Linked DNA regions of Homo sapiens: region 1 is linked to region 2. Evidence: promoter capture Hi-C in human tissues and cell types (Jung and others, 2019). All regions are on one chromosome and are shown on one strand. The core of a region is centred on a gene start or on the middle of the fragment in contact, and the rest is flanking DNA. Distances in the headings are between cores, read along the strand shown.

Region 1 (3,171 bases), core at 198-2,697, 680 kb before region 2:
CCAGTATTTGATATACAAGAGGTGTCCAATAAATGCTCATGAAATACATGATTGTAGTGGTGAGAGCCAGGCCTGACAGAGATCTCTTGATTGGCAGTCACCCTCCTCCCATGCCACAATTCCCCAGGCAGTCTTGGCTGGCCTTCCCTGGGCAGTGACGCTTCTGGTGTCCGCGGTGAGAGGATGGTGGCAGCTGAGTGTCTTAACCTTAATGTGCACACACCTGTGCCAAGCATGGCTCCCTAAAGGGCAGCCTTAAGAGCAAGATGAAACAACCTTGGATGTAAATGCGCCTGGCAGAGAAACTAGCCCCACTGTGACCCAGCTTGTCAGAGTGGATCCCCGTTGCGGAACGGATGTGCTGTGTTTGGGAGCTGACAGATTCCAGTCAAAATGGAAGGACCTAAATGAATTTAGATTCCACCTTTGACCTAGCCTGGATGCAGAGGCTCATGCCTGTAATCCCAGCACTTTGGGAGGCCGAGGCAGGCAGATCACTTGAGATCAGGAGTTCGAGACCAGCCTGGCCAACATGGCAAAACCCCACCTCTACTAAAAATATAAAAATTAGCTGGGCGTGGTGGCAGGCGCCTATAATCCCAGATTCTCGGGAAGCTGAGGCAAAAGAATCACTTGAACCCGGGAGGTGGAGGTTGCAGTGAGCCGAGATCGCACCACTGCAGTCCAGCCTGGGCGACAGAGTGAGACTCTGTTTCAAAAAAAAAAAAAAAATTCTACCTTTGACCTAAATCCAGTGTAGTAATAGCCAAGATAAGTAAGATAAGTACAAGCTCAAGAGTTAAGCTTCTGGAGAAAAGAGAACTGTATTTAACTTAACTTAGGTTGTAAGCCCCTCAGCAGAGGGGAGTGGATCACCTTTTTGATGAGAATACATGTTTTAAGATAAATATTAAAACCACTTCCAGCTGGTCATGGTGGCTCACACCTGTAATCCCAGCACTTTGGGAGGCTAAGGTGGGTGGATCACAAGGTCAGGAGTTCGAGACCAGCCTGGCCAAAATGGTGAAACCCCATCTCTACTAAAAATACAAACATCAGCCTGGCATGGTGGTGGGCGCCTGTAGTCCCGGCTACTTGGGAAGCTGAGGCAGGAAAATCGCTTGAACCCGGGATGCAGAAGTTGCAGTGAGCCAAGATCTGGCCACTGCACTCCAGCCTGGGTGACAGAGCGAGACTCTGTCTCAAACAACACAAAACAAAACAAAAAAAATATTTCCTAGTTTCCCAGTAGAAACAGGCACTGAGAGGTGAGTTTTGATCAGAATAGTGCTGCAAAATCCACTCATACTGCAAATATTTACTGAATGCTGGGCAGAGAGTTCACAAGAATTAACTACACATCATCTCATCCTTCAAGGTGATTATGGAATATTTAGAGGAAAAAGACAAATTTCTAAGAAAAGCTGAATAACAATAAAAGTTAAATAAGTAATGCAAGCAAGAAGACTATTTTTTTTTTTTTTTTGAGAGAAGTCTCACTCTTGTTCCCCAGGCTGGAGTTCAATGGCACAGTCTCGGCTCACTGCAACCTCCATCTCCCGGGTTCAAAAGATTCTCCTGCCTCAGCCTCCCAAGTAGCTGGGATTACAGGCGCCTGCCACCAGGTCCGGCTAATTTTTTTGTATTTTTGGTAGAGACGGGGTTTCACCATGTTGGCCAGGCTGGTCTCAAATTCCTGACCTCAGGAGATCCACCTGCCTTGGCCTCCCAAAGTGCTGGGATTACAGGCGTGAGCCACTGCACCTGACTCTTTTTTTTTTTTTTTTTGACAGGGTCTTGCTTTGTCACCCACTGGAGTGCAATGGTGCAATCTCAGGTCATTGCAACCTCTGCCTCCTGGACTCAAGCGATCCTCCCACCTCGGCCTCCAGAGAGCTGGGACCACAGGCACCGCCACCACATCCAGCTACTTTTTTTTTTTATTTTTAGTAGAGACAGGGATTTCACCATGTTGCCCGGGCTAGTCCCGAACTCCTAAGCTCAAGCGATTTGCCCACATCAGCCTCCCACAGTGCTGGGATTATAGGCGTGAGCCACTGCACCCTGCCAACTATTCCTTAAAGGCGTGACTCGCTGCCAAATGAGAGGTCTGAACCAGAAGTTCAGAGAAGGGAAAGAAGGTTGTGCCTCCAGGGTGGACTGATCCATAGGAGGCAGAGACCAAAAACGAGGCTCTCACTTGACGGACTGGACCAGCAAGATGGAGTGCATGGTGGAGGCGTGGGGGTGCATCTTGGTAGAAAAAAAGCCTTTGGGATTTGGGACTGGAGTTTCTGTTCTGTCATTTATTAGTGAGAGATCTCAGGCATTTTTAAAAAATCTTCTTTGCACCTCAGTTTCCTCATGGGTGAAAGGAATAATATTATCTACCCCACTGGGCTCCACATATCATTCAGACCACAAGCATCTGTGGAGTCTACTTATACTAAGCCCTTTTGATAAGCCCTGGAGTACAAGATGAAAAGAGAAGGGCCTGCCCTCAAGAGCTGCCAGAGAAGGAGGGGCAGTCACTGTTGGTCCCTCTCTTCATTTACCTTCCAGGGGTCTGTCTTTTTGTTTGTTTGTTTGTTTGTTTGTTTTGTTTTGTTTTTTGTGTGTGTGAGAGATGGAGTCTCACTCTGTCATCCAGGCTGGAGTGCAGTGGCACGATCTCGGCTCACTGCAAGCTTCGCCTCCTGGATTCAAGCAATTCTACTGCCTCAGCCTCCGGAGTAGCTGGGACTGGAACTACAGGCGCCCGCCACCAAGCCCGGCTAATTTTTTTTTTTTTTTTTTTTTTTTTTTTTTTTTTTGTATTTTTAGTAGAGACAGGGGTTTCACCGTGTTAGCCAGGATGGTCTCGATCTCCTGACCTCGTAATCTGCCCGCCTCGGCCTCCCAAAGTGCTGGGATTACAGACAGGCGTGAGCCACCGTGCCCGGCCCAGAGGTCTGTCATTTTAAAGCAGCAGTGGTCAGAACCATGAGCCACATACATGGAATGCAGGACATTGGTTCAGAAGTTTGAAGACAGAACAAGCTCTTCACCATCCACAACGGAAGGTTCCTGCCTTCCTGTCCCGCGTTCTGTGAGGAAATGCGTCTGTCCCTCTGGAGCTCCTGATTTTCAAGGCTTCTCCCCTGAGCTTTGATGAAGTCTGGGGGAGCCAGC
Region 2 (3,093 bases), core at 390-2,889:
TACAGTGTCAGCTCATTAGGGCACCAGATTCCATCTCAAACTCTGAATTTGAGTAAGCAGAGTTCAAGGTTGCAGATTAAGGGCCAAAATCTTTATTCTTTGTATCTACTTTGCAATTAGTTAACTGGGAAACACTTCAAGTTTTACCAGAAACCTTTAATTTTCTAGAAACCTTTACCTGTGTTCAATATCCACTTTAATTAAAAAGCTCTTGTAAATGATACTTATTTGGGGAAGGTGATTCAGCTTGTCGAGGGGTAATTAACCAAATTGCTGAGGTGGAAGTCTGGGTAAGTGAAAAGGTCATCAAATCTGAGTAAGAAAGCTTGCAGCTTTCACCTCTCCGTCAAGACTGGCAGAGAGGCACTTTCGTAAAATCTTTGTTTGGGATTCACTTTTACTTCGCCACTTGTCCCATTTTAATTAAAGCTTGCCAACTGAAGGACCTAAGAAAACAATATAGTTCTGCATTTTGCCAAATTGGGAAATTTCCAGGGCCCCCAAAATTTAGCGGGGAGACTCAGAGACTAGAATGGGAGAATAGGAAGCACCAACTTGCTCTAAAAGGAAGATTGGGTAAAAGCAGCACTCTTATTCCAGCTCTACAACCAAAGCAACTAAGACTTGGGCTGGCTGGCTGCCTAGCCACAGCATTCCCTCCTACTTCCCCATTATCTCCTGACCAGCAAGTCATCTTTGGTCACATATCTTTAATTATTTAGTTTGAGACAAAGTCTCACTATCACCCAGGCTGGAGTGCAGTGGCGCGATCTCGGCTCACTGCAACCTCCGCCTCCCGGGTTCAAGCGATTCTTCCACCTCAGCCTCCCGAGTAGCTGGGACTACAAGCGGGCACCACCATGCCCGGCTAATTTTTGTGTTTTTAGTGGAGATGGGGTTTCACCATGTCGGCCAGGCTGGTCTCGGACTCCTGACCTCAAGTGATCCGCCCACCTCTGCCTCCTGAAGTGCTGGGATTACAGGCATGAGTCACCAAGCCCGACTACATATTCCTTTTATTAATATTCCTGTTGAACTTAATTTTGGTCGTTTCCGGTGCAAAAATGTTAAGGTAAAGGGAATCAATAACAGCCACATTTGATGTATTTTTGTAATCCCCATCTCCAATTTCCATCCGGGCCTGAGTAACCAAAAACACTTTACAGGGGTAGACTGTCTCAACAGACATCAATTTGTAACCGCGTCTACCTCTACCACGGTATTCTAAAGACTCCGTCGAGGAAAACCTTTAGCTCGGGCAACGGGAGACACATTACAGAACACTGTCCGCCGCCGAAGAAACAGACGATACGCGGGAGAGTTGAACAGACACCCGGCCTCGCCCCGATTGCTTCACAGTCCTCAGCCACGCCCCTCCCAACCGGAACTACATCCCCCGCACTCCGCGCCCCCACGCACAGCGTGTCGTAGGCGTCCGAAGCCGCAGGCTCCCGCCCGGCTTCCCGGGACGCACAGGGCAGGCGCTGGGCATGCGCATGCTCGGCAGGCGGGGCAGCTGGAGTCTCCAGGCGCTGCAATCTGTTGCGCCGCCGCCCGCGGGAGCCGGCAGATCCGGGTCTTGTGGCTAAGAGTGACGTGGTCACTCGAATCAAAACAGAGGAGGGGGAGGAAGCCGGCGGCCAGAAACGGCAGTGGCAGCAGCGTCCGGAGCAGCCGCAGCCTTCTGGAAGCTCCAGGCGGTCTTTCTGCCGAGCCTCGGTCCCGGCCCCCATCCTCCCCGCCCCATCGGTTGTTGTCTGGGCGGGTGAGTGTCTCCCCCTCTCCCACCAGCGTTTGCTGGCTCACCCTCCCCTCGCCCCAGTTTTTCCTGGGGGCTCCTCAGGCTCTCGGGGACTGCGGCGGCTGCGGCAGAACAGGGCTGTTTCTCGGGCTTGGCGTTTCCTCGGCCGGGCTGGCGATTCTGCACCGGGAGAAGCTCCGCTGCTGCCGAGCCCGCGTCCCCCGCGAAGAGCCTGCAATTGGGTATTCTCTGCAGGATGTCAGAGTCGGGGCTTTGCAGGCAAGGGCAAGGTAGCCACGGGTGGTTTTATTTTTAGGATCAGATTGTCGACGGGTGGAGGCGTATCATGGAGTAAAAAGAGAGTCGTAGCTGGAAGGAAAAACTCACAAATCCTGAAATCCACACTATCTTGTTTACCGTCTCCCTCAGCCCTTTCTGGGTACGGTGAAGTCACTAGGATGCGTCCTTTGTTGTGATAAGTGAGACGAGAAAGCTGACACCCTGAAAGCGAGAGCTTTTTAGCTCCTATTGTGTCGCGAATTTAAAGGATCCCCTTTTTCTGTTTGCTCAGTAAGTGGAACCAAGGCTGACAGTAAAGAGGTAGCAGCACCCTTTATTGGAACTAATAGTGTGTGATAAACTGGTTACCGGCTCTACCCGAAGTCCCGTGTTGCTGTTTAAAGGCAGACTTCACCAAAGTGGCTGTTTATATGTGCCAGGATTTTAGCCGAGATGGTTTGCTAGCTGTAGAGAGTCGGTAGGATGTTTTCAGTTGCCCCAGTTGGCAAAACCGAGGCTGTGGCCTTAATAGAATGTGTTACTTTTGCATCGAGAGAGTCGGATGAGCTTCACACACGTAATAGCTACATTTGCAGAAGAGACCTTCCAGTTTGTGTGTGTTATTGTCAGAAACAGCAGCTGTACATATTATAACTTGGAAAGCGTAAGACCTTCCAGGTGTTGGAGTGTTGGGACGCTTAGGAGGCATTCTTGCTGCCCAGCGCTGTGGAGGTTGCAGGAGGCTTTGCATTCCCTTCCACTTAGGGTGGCTGGCCGCGCAGATTCCTTTAGTGTAGCCTGCTCCGAACTTGCCGCTCTCCGCGGCCGTCGACAGCACTGCGACCAGAAAACCAAACCTTTTTGTCCTAACTTTTTTTTTTTTTCCAACGTGGTGTTTAAGAACACCGCTTCACCCCCGAGAACTCATTAATTGAGGTGTTTCAGTGGTTAACAGCAAGAAAGAACAACAGTACGTGATAGTTAATTGCTCCTTATCAAACCCAGGAAGAGTTATGAGTTTAGATTATTTCCTTGAAGGGTATGTCCTTGTGGTATAACATGAACCCCTTAAC

Evidence for each region. Contacts are between HindIII fragments. The study calls those that stand out against the background at their distance.
Region 1: a contact is called between a fragment that was not itself captured here and the fragment with the promoter of SMIM14 in region 2, in 2 of the 25 tissues and cell types used here (hippocampus and pancreas).

The regions. Positions count from the first base shown.
Region 1 is chr4:40,317,399-40,320,569 of GRCh38, reverse strand. The region is part of intron 2 of LINC02265 (long intergenic non-protein coding RNA 2265); the gene reads right to left. Among named protein-coding and RNA genes, the nearest start is that of LINC02265, 12 kb to the right of the region's middle. RefSeq lists an enhancer at 3,158-3,171. The HindIII fragment of the contact is 3,787 bases long and covers 1-3,171 here.
Region 2 is chr4:39,637,411-39,640,503 of GRCh38, reverse strand. It overlaps SMIM14 (small integral membrane protein 14), which reads left to right and starts at 1,639. Exons shown (of 5, transcript NM_174921.3): 1 at 1,639-1,765. SMIM14-DT (SMIM14 divergent transcript) reads right to left here and starts at 1,364. Exons shown (of 6, transcript NR_183845.1): 1 at 1,210-1,364. RefSeq lists an enhancer at 980-1,697. The HindIII fragment of the contact is 11,439 bases long and covers 1-3,093 here.